3 separate regions of the Homo sapiens genome follow, and all the other regions are linked to region 1. Evidence: promoter capture Hi-C in 16 types of primary human blood cells and fetal thymus (Javierre and others, 2016). All regions are on one chromosome and are shown on one strand. Each heading gives the region's core, a stretch centred on a gene start or on the middle of the fragment in contact. The rest is flanking DNA. Distances are from core to core; before and after follow the strand shown. Region 1 has its middle 4.2 kb from the start of IDS. Region 2 holds the start of CD99L2 (CD99 molecule like 2). Region 3 holds the start of MTMR1 (myotubularin related protein 1).

What was found. Contacts are between HindIII fragments. The CHiCAGO score rates a contact against its expected background, and 5 or more counts as called.
Region 2: the fragment with the promoter of CD99L2 here is called in contact with a fragment that was not itself captured in region 1 in 1 of 17 cell types (activated CD4 T cells); the score reaches 6.2 in activated CD4 T cells.
Region 3: a contact is called between the fragment with the promoter of MTMR1 here and a fragment that was not itself captured in region 1, in 1 of 17 cell types (non-activated CD4 T cells). The highest score is 5.7, in non-activated CD4 T cells.

What each region holds. Positions count from the first base shown.
Region 1 is chrX:149,507,880-149,511,051 of GRCh38, forward strand. No RefSeq gene overlaps it. Among named protein-coding and RNA genes, the nearest start is that of IDS, 4.2 kb to the left of the region's middle. RefSeq lists an enhancer at 2,554-3,172. The HindIII fragment of the contact is 2,349 bases long and covers 413-2,761 here.
Region 2 is chrX:150,896,914-150,900,085 of GRCh38, forward strand. CD99L2 (CD99 molecule like 2) reads right to left here and starts at 1,755. Exons shown (of 11, transcript NM_031462.4): 1 at 1,609-1,755. The coding sequence starts at 1,675. RefSeq lists a silencer at 1,430-2,039. The HindIII fragment of the contact is 7,642 bases long and covers 695-3,172 here.
Region 3 is chrX:150,691,655-150,694,826 of GRCh38, forward strand. It overlaps MTMR1 (myotubularin related protein 1), which reads left to right and starts at 1,742. Exons shown (of 16, transcript NM_001306144.3): 1 at 1,742-2,022. The coding sequence starts at 1,877. RefSeq lists silencers at 1,673-1,742, 2,053-2,192 and an enhancer at 3,086-3,172. The HindIII fragment of the contact is 7,697 bases long and covers 1-3,172 here.

The DNA of each region.
Region 1 (3,172 bases), core at 337-2,836:
CAGTTCAGGTGGCTGACAGTGGTTAAGAAGACTGGTGGACTGGGGACAAACAAAGATCTAGGAGATGGGTGAGGATATAGAGAGGCAGCAAGGGTGTGAGAGTACTGGTTTTAGTCCCAGAATGAGACCCTGAAATTTAAGATTTCTGAGGTAAAACAGATCCTGGTGATTTAAAGGTCAAGGATGTGGCCTTGAAGCTGGGAGGCTGAGGTGGGGGGGAAGAGATTGCTAGAGGTTAGAGATGAGGAAGAAGTCAAGGGTCTGTGAGTGGCACAGGCTGCTGATGAATACACTGCAGTCCCCCAGAATGATGACAGGACACAGGGTACCAAGGTCACCTGTGAGCCTGGTACCTGAGTCTTCAGTGAATGAGGGATAAGGGCCAATCAATGCTATGTAACAAATGACCACAAGCTTAGTGGCTGTAAACACTACTCATTTGTCACCTCCTACTTTCTGTGGGTCAGAAATCCAGGCACAGCTAAGCTGGGTCTTAGGTTCAGGGTCTCAAAAGGCTGCAGTGAAGGACTACATTCTCACTTAAAGCTCGGGATTGTGGATAGCACAATCCACAGGTGCTCAAGTCCTTTATATAAGATGGTGCAGTGTTTACATATAACATACATACACATCCTCCCGTATACTTTACATTACCTCTAGATTACTTATAATCCCTAATACAATGTAAGTGCCATGTAAATAGTTATTATACTGCATTATTTATGAAATAATGACAAGGGAAAAAAGTCTGTACATGTTCACTGCAGAGACAACCACCCATCTTTTTCAAATTCAACAGGTGGTTGAATCCACAGATGTGGAACACATGGATAAGGAGGCTGATTGTAGTACATTCTACCCATACACAAGGGGTCACATACACTAGGAGGCAGGAAACTTGGGGGCCATCTAGAATGGCATCTACCACAAAAGAGCCCTATCTTGAGTCTCAACTCCAACAGATAACAGAAAATTTAATCTAGTCAATTCCACATTTTCCCAGTTACTTCGGGATTGTCTTACTAATTACCAATTATTGTTATCAAGCAATTTAGGATTGTCTCCTTTGCCCCAGCCTATCACCTAAATTCTGTGAGACTCTTAAATTCGGAGAGAGAGAGCAAGAGAGAAGAGAATCTGCTTGTTGTCAATGGCAACCTGTCCATGCCAGCATCCACTCCCAATGTACAATCCCATCCAGCGCTCAGAGATGGCATACCTTCATGCTGTCTTCCAATGTGGTGTCGTCATTCTAACCTGGTTCCTAGCTGCACAGTCCATGCCATTTTCTATGTGACATTTTTTGGAGACGTGCTCTCCCTCTCGCTCTCTCTCTCCCCCTCTCCCTCTCCCTCTCTCCCTCTTTCTCTTTCCCTCTTTCTCTCTCCCTCCCTCTCTTACCTCCTTGGAGGCACGGGAAAATTCAACTGCTTTCCCATGCCACTTTAGTGTCACAGGAAGCTCAGGGGACTGCTCCAGACACTTCTGCAGCTAAGATATGTGGATTTGGTGTGAGAGGAGTTCTAGGACTCTGGACCTTCTAGGGTACCATACAGCAAAGGGAGTCCCCTTGCTCTTGGACTTCTACCCTACCCCCGCCTTTGAGCCTAACTCCAGGAGGAGGGGACAATGCACACTGGCAAATTGGTATATAGTCCCACACAATGGTAGGATGAGGATTCAGGGGAGAATTCAAGATTTGTCTCTCATTCCAGATCCAGGGATCCTTGGATGGGCACCCCTCAAGGGCAGGCTCTGCCCTGTCCATTTACTACTGTATCCCAGGGGCTAGTACCTTCGTGGGGTTTCAAGGGCTCGGGATGAGAACCATGATGAGAACTACCTGGATGAGGAAAGGGAGTGTCCCAGGCTGTCCTCAGCCCAATGCCAGTGAGGGCTCTCTCCCCTGCAGAGTCATAGGGAGGGCCCTGGGCTCTGTAGGCACGTGAAATGGTGTTCCAAGGAGGAGTCTAACGTGGGCTGTGAATGTTACCCAAATGCGCTGGGCACGGAGGGCACTGTTCCCAGAAGAGACTATCTCAAGGTGCGTGAGGCAACGTGCTAGAACTCTGCTCTCAATCTGAACTCTGGAGAGTATAGATGGTCATCCATAGGCATCTAGTTCCGTAGCCAGGTCTGTGCTACCCTGAGGACTAAGGTGCAGCAGTAGCAGCCCTAGGCTCCCTGGGGTTCCAGAGGAGTGAAAGTGAATGGCAACACAGCCAGAATCTGATTCTGTTTTACTTCCCAGGAAGAAGTGAAGCCGCATGGAGCATGAGGGGGCAGCCAAGGGGCTGGGCATCACAGAAGCCCTGACATTTGCTGGGCTCCTACCCTGCATCACATACTATATCAAAAACTTTAGGAGCTGAGATATTCTCTCACAATGGAAGAGGTTAGTCTCAGTCCCGTTTGCCTGTGGACATCTTGCATCGTCCTCTGAACAATCTTTCCCTTCCTTCCTCTTCTTTCCAGTTCTCGTCCCACCGTCTTCCCTCTCTTCTTTTCTTTTTTTTTCTCCCCTCAAGCCCAAGACTTTCCTGTCATGCCAGGCAATGATTCAGCCACTTCAGTTCTGGGTGGATGGATAGGCAGGGCTTAGAGCAGGCAACCCTCATGCTGTCAAAGCCAAAAAGTAGAGGAATTATAAAAGCCTCCACCAGGGGTTGCCTAAGCTCTGGTGTTTTGCCCCCACTACTTTAAAGGCGATTCGTTTAAAACAAAACAAAACGAAAAACAACAACTTACTTTGTAAAGCATAAGCTTAAAATAAGAAAAACAGAAGTGCCTAATCAGATCTTTGGAAGTATTGCATTGCACTGTCACTGAGTGATGTATGACTGGCTGTCTTTCTGTTTGGACTGCATTCATCTGAATGGAGTGGGTACATTGGCTACCGCCTTTTCTCCTGGTTTTCGCTGTTTCTCTTTGATCTAGAAACGATTTATTCTTACTCCCCCAGATTTCTTTATAAAAAGCCACAGGGAAGGGAAACAATGATGGCCGTTTGGGAATAAAGGAGGGCTCTCACAGTTGAAGTTTTCTCCATCTGGGCTTGGGTAAGGAGAAGGGCTTCTGGTCCCTCAGGCCTGTCAGTCATATACCTGGGACCTGTCCCGTGGTCATATAGACCAGACCCTGCACACCTGCAGTCTCAGGTTCTGACAAGCAG
Region 2 (3,172 bases), core at 505-3,004, 1.4 Mb after region 1:
CTGTCTCCTCTACCACCTCTTAAATCAACAATTGTAACGTGCAAATCTGAGACCCAATCATTTCTATTCCCCACCTTCTCAACGGGCACACCATGTTGAAGACTTTCAGAAGACAGCTTTGAAGGGAGTATCATTTTTCTAACTTTTTTTGTGCTTCTACTTTCAAGATTTCCATGTCATTAGATGCAAGTCAATCAAATGATCATACATTTTCCTACAAATGCATTGTAAACAAAATAAAAATTTTATCCCAAAGGGAAAATGAAAAAGAAAATTCAACAACTCTTTACCCCTGTAACTTCCTTTATTTTTCTCCATAGCACTGACAATATATATAGATTTCAATGTTGGGCTTGTTTTCTGCCCGGACCAGGATGTAAGCTCCATGAAGACAGTCTCAATTTTGTTCACTACCGCATCATCAGTTCCTAGAACAGAGCCTGGCACCTCTGCAGAATGTTAAATGGCTCTTCGTGAATCAACTCCAGGTGGGTTGCCCACATGAAAAACATTTCTGCATCTTTTGCAAAAGTGGCTTGGCTAGTACCATCCACTGTTTTCCAGTGTTCCTTTATGTGACATAAATCTTACTAGAACTCAGTACTAGGACAAAGTGTGTGTGTGTGTGTGTGTGTGTGTGTGTTTCCTGAGCTCACATATTTTCCACCAGCTGGGTTCGCTTCTATTGTCAGGAAGCTTGGAGCATAATTCACGTTCAATTACAGTGTTTCCCTTAATCCCTTTTTCTGATGGGGACATAGGATATAAATAAGTGTAAGAAGATTCTGTTGGTACATGTTTAAGACCCTATTTTTAACCACAGACTGCATTTATTCTACTAAGATGCTTCTCAAACTTGAATGTGCCAGAGAATCACCCGCGGATCTAGTTGAAATGCAGAATCAGACTCAGTAGGTCGGGGGCGGGGCGTGAGATGCTGCAGTTCTTACAAGCTCCCAGGTGATGCCTATGCGGCTGGGCCCTGGACCACATTTTGAGTAGCAGAGGGTCTAAGAAACGTGCTTCCTTGATTCAGCGGGATTTCTCTCTCCTGCTCCTTGGCAAAACATGACCAAAGTCTCAAAAACTGAAGCGGACGGCAGAAGCACCTAGAGAGCTGGTTAGACCTACGCCTCGCTGACCCCCCCCCCCCCCCCCCACAGCCCATGCCCGCTGTGATCCCGATGAAAGGGGCTAGGAATCCACCTAGGAAGTTCCCCAGGTGCTTCTGCTGTCGGTGGCCTCGCAGCAAATTTCGAAAATGACTGCTCTCTTCAAGGTTTTCTCAAAGGTAAACTCTTGGGGACAGCTGTTGTCACCAGTGGTACACCTGCTCGTTCAGGATTTTAGGGGGCCCATCCCGCTGTTTCCAGCCCAGCGTCAGGAGGGGACCCACCCCTCCTCTCCGGCTACTCCGACCGCGGCGGAGTCAACCCCCACGGGCCCGGGGCTCGGACCCCCGCCGCTCCGCCTCGCACAGCCGGGCCGGCCGGTGGCAGCCACCGCAGGCCCGAGAGGCGGGGACCGTGCCGCTCATGCGCAGAGCGACCCCTGGGCCCACAAGGCGGGGTCCCCGCGCGGTCCCCGCGCGCCCCCCGCCCGCCTTACCTCGCTGGACCAGGGTGGCCAAGGAGAAAGCGAGGCAGACAAGGAACGCCGAGCGCCAGGCCACCATGGCTGGGAGCAGGCGGAGGGCCCCGGAGGAGCACAGTTAGCGCGAGAGCGCCCGAAGGGGAGGCCGAGGAGGAGCGGGAGGAGGAGCCCCGCCGCCTCTGCAGGGTCCCGCCCAAAGCCCGCGCGCGCGCGCGGCGCGGCCCCGGGAAGATGGAGGTCGGGCGCGCTAGAGAGCCGGCGCCTGAGGGCGCCTGGGCTGGGGTTAGGCCGGGGGGCGGGGCGAGGCTGCAGTATCGGGGGCGGGGCCGCGTTCTGGAGGCGGGGCTCCGGGCGAGGGGCGTGGCCTGCGGGCACCCGGTGGGTGGGGAGGCCTGGGTTGGGTTGGGCTGGGTCCAGCGGCAGCGCGCGGTCCGCAGACCCTGTCCCACCTCGGTCCTCGAGACCGAAGTCTCGGAGGTGGCCCCGCGGACCTGGAGCAGTGAGTCACCAGTGCCGGGGAGCGGGAGGCGGCAGCGCCGGTGGGCGCCGATTTCCTCCCGGGTGACCTTGAGAAGGGCTCTTCCCCTTCTGGCCTTGGTGTTCTCCCGGTGAAGGGTTGTTCCCTTGGGGCCCCTCCAGACACCGTCCAGCACGGAGCCCCGCACTCTGTCCCCACCCGCTGTTCCCTGCAGGAGTGAAACCCTGGCCGGAGACTGAAGAAAAGGACCGTTTTCGTGACTGGCTGCGGTCAACAAGCAGTGACACGTCTCGAGAAAACGAGGCCGGGGGCGCCCGGGTGGGCGACAGGGGAGGATGGGGGCGTCCCGGAGCCGAAGCGCCGCGGGCTCGGGAGACTGGGGGTAGGGACTGGGTCAGCTCTCCCGAGGCTTTGATGAATGCGCTGAAAGTGCAAGTTCATATCTGCAGAGTCGATCTCAAAAACGTGCTTAATGACCGACAAACGCGCTGCAGTCCTTTCCCATGAACCCCCGCAAACGGAGTCCGTCTCCCAGACCCGAAGAAATCAGATTCCGATACGATACTGTGCCGACCAGCAAAATGCCCGCTGCAGCAGTTGATGGGAACGCTCCCTAGAAGAGCCCCAGCTGCAACCGGCTCTCGAAGACAAAGAGGAAGCGCTACTGCTCTCCGGAGTGGTAGCGTGAGCCTGTCCCTGCCATTATGCGGCACCGGCTGCCCAGGGCCACATCCTCCTTAGAGGGCGGCTACTACCACCTCCCCTCAATATCCATTCGGCAGCTTTCCTGTGCCCCCAACCCAGCCCTCGCTGCCATAGGCACCCCCCTCAGTGGCTCCCACCAACCCCTAAGGAACAGTGGGGTGTGGGGTCTCCCTGAGATGGAGCCGAAATCTCCCGTGTGGCTTACATCCATTGCCCTGAATCTTAGGGCTGCAGAAACAAAACAGCATATGAGGAGTGGATCTTCCCAGGCTCAGGGCATTAATTACTCTATGAATGGAACATTATTCCATTCTAGCTGTAGAATTAACAGAAATAGCTGGTAGTTATTGAACACACACTATACACATGGCATATTCCAGGCATTTTACCCTTAAT
Region 3 (3,172 bases), core at 492-2,991, 1.2 Mb after region 1:
AGGGATATGTCAGATTCATCTCTGTCCTCTAAATCCTAAGTGTACTTAACTGAATTGGAAGTATGACAGTGTCACAGTGAATTCCTCTTTGGCCTAATGTTTCTTAAAGAATATGGTACTTAAAATATGCTTAAAGTTGCACTGTTTTCTTTCTGACAATTCTCAGCACAGCTAAGATGCTTGCAGCTACTTGTAACAAAATACCCAACTAAAAGTGGGTGTCTTAGTGTGCTTAGGCTGCCAAAACAAAATACCATAGACTGGGTGGCTTAAACAACAGAAATTTTCTCACAACTCTGGAGGCTGGAAAGTCCAAGATTAAGTGTCCAGCAGGGACCTAGTAAGGGCTCTGTTCCTGGCTTGCAGATGGCCACCTTCTTGCTGTGTACTCACACGGCCTTTTCTCAGTGTGTGCATGTGAGTGCATGAGATCAAGCTCTCTGGTGACCCTTCTTAAAAAGCACCAGTTCCATCAGACTAGAGCTTGGCCCTCATGACCTAATTGCCTCTCAAAGACCCCATCTCCAAATACCATCACACAGGGAATTAGGGCTTCAACATATGGACTTCAGGGGGATGAAAACATTCAGTCCATAACAGTGGGTTAACCATTTGATTTAATAATTTTAGAAAGCCAGCAACCTGCAGTCGGTGATTCTCCAGTGTGAGATAGGAGCTATTATTGTCTGGGGATCTTCCTTTCCTTCCTCCTAGCCCTCCTCACTCTGTCATCTTCTTACCCCAGGCTCACCTCCTCTTGTGCGTAAGATGGCTGTCGGGGCTTCAGGCATCATATCCTCAAAGTTCAGTTTGAAGTTATTAAGCTGGTGGGGCAGGATGGGTCTGGGATGGGCATGAGTAACTCCCTGTCTGCAGATCTGCCTTTTAACAGTGAGCAAATTGTTCCCTTTATATCTTCTTTTCCAGACCTGGGTCGCAGGCCTCCTGTCTACACCCAGAGCAATCACAGGCAAAGAGGCTTAATCACGAGCCACACACCCACTCCCAACTTAATCAGGGGTGAGGTGAGAGGGGATGAGCTGTTGGATATTCGAACCCAAACAAAATGAGCAAGGAAATAAATCTAGCCCAGAAAGCAAATGTCCTAAATGCCTCACCAAGATATTGGCTTGATGTTCATAGCAGTGATTTTTTAATCAACAGAAGTTAAATGTTACTCTTAACATAAACCATGGGCGGAAGCTCCGAGGGCGGCATCAGAACACTTGGTTGCCCTACAGATGGCAAGGGGGTGGGTTTGTGGCGGGGCGGCGGGGTGCGTATGGAGGGGGAGAGTGGAGGGAAGAATGGGGTGGGGAGGAATTGCTAAAATGCACGGAATTGCTCCTGCTTCAAGATGTCAAGACCGAGGGAGCTTGAGCTGTTCTATACCTTTTCCGGGAAGGACAACTGAGGTGGGAAATCATTTTTGATACTTGAATGTCTTCAAACTTCTTTTTACACCCCACGTCTCTGCAGTCAACCCGGTGTGACTATAGAGTGAAGCACGCTACGCATAATCCGTTTGGGGATTCCGAACCCCAGTGGCTCTGTACGCACCCAGGTCGCTGGAGCAGGAGGTCCCAGATCCCCGCTGTAAGGCTCCGTGGGCGAGCGCCCAGGTGGGGCTGGGCGAGGTGGGGGTTCCCGGCGCCGGCCCCGCGCGCCGCCCTCCCCGCCCCCGCTCCCGCCCCCCGACCCCCGCGCGCGCGGCCTTGTGGGTAACGCGGGGCCGCCAGGTGACAGCTAATGGCGGCGGCCGCCTGAGGCGGGCGGGCGGTATAGAGCGGGCGGCAGGAGGCAAGCAGCGAAACCTTCCCGGCCGCCGCTCCCGTCCCGACGGCGGCTTCCCCAAGGCGGCAGGACTCGGCGCGCCATGGACAGGCCGGCGGCGGCGGCGGCGGCGGGCTGCGAGGGCGGCGGGGGCCCGAACCCGGGGCCGGCGGGCGGCAGGAGGCCTCCTCGGGCCGCGGGGGGCGCCACCGCCGGCTCCCGGCAGCCCAGCGTGGAGACCCTGGACAGGTAAGCGGGGCCCGGGCTGCCCCGGCCTCCCGCGCCCCGACTCCCGAGGGCCCCGCGCGAGGCCAGCCCGCCCCCTCCCCGCGCGCTGCGCAGGGCCTGGCGGTGGCGGGGTGGGCGGCCCCTCTTCATCCCCTCTGGGCCCTCCTCCCCCCCACCCCCGGAAACCTCAGCGCCCCATCCGGGGACTGCTGCCCTCGGACCTGCTGCGGGCCGCGCACCTGGCTCACTTCCGCCCCGAGAGCCCCAGCTCCTGGAACCCCGGGAGGGGCTTCGCAGCTGTCAAACCACTTCCGGCGCCGCCACCTGCTGCCCTTGGCGATCGCTTGGCTGTCCCTGCCCAGGCCACCAATCCTCTTGGGAGGGAGATCCCACCCGGGCTCTCCTCTTCTAGCATCACCTTGCCTCGTGTGGTTTTAAGACCCCAATTCTGCTGTGGCTGCTTAGGGTCTTTGATGGGGGGTTGGGAGTGAGGACGGGGAGATGGGACCCCGCGGGCGTGGGAGCTGGTGCAGATCGAGGCAAAAATCTGAGATGGAAAACGTCCAAACTGCTCAGGAGGCAAGAAAACAGAACCATTTACTTTCAGTTCTTCACACTTTGAGGGAACCAGTTTATTGTTTTCATGAACACACAAGCAAGCCTACTGCTTCTGAGGCAGCTGCAGAACTAAGAGAAATCAGTTAGAAACATAAAGTGACCGTGTCGAACTGGGAGGGGCCACCGCCTCCTCCGACGACAAGAGATGGCCTATCGTGTAACCCGGAACATCCAGTTTTCCCACAACTTGGCCATTTCCCTGACACCAGAGTGCACTCAGGCAGCATGCACTGTTGGAATGTAGCTCAGTCAGTTTTACATGCCCATTCCTGCCTGTCTTGGTCATCCCATTGTGCCAAACTTTTGGGAGTTTCCAAAAGCACAGAAACAAGAAACATTCCCTTCACTTTTGTTTCTACCTCAGTGTAATTACAATATATTTTAATAAATTAATCACCCAAGTGGTTAGTGTCACTGAAAACCAGTCACAGCTAAGACAGCACTTGAAATGGTGAGGACTTCACTCATCTGCAAATATTCAACCACACACGAGGTCTGGGCGATTCAGAGAATAGCACAACACGGCTTTTGCTGCCTTACCATTTTGCTAGAC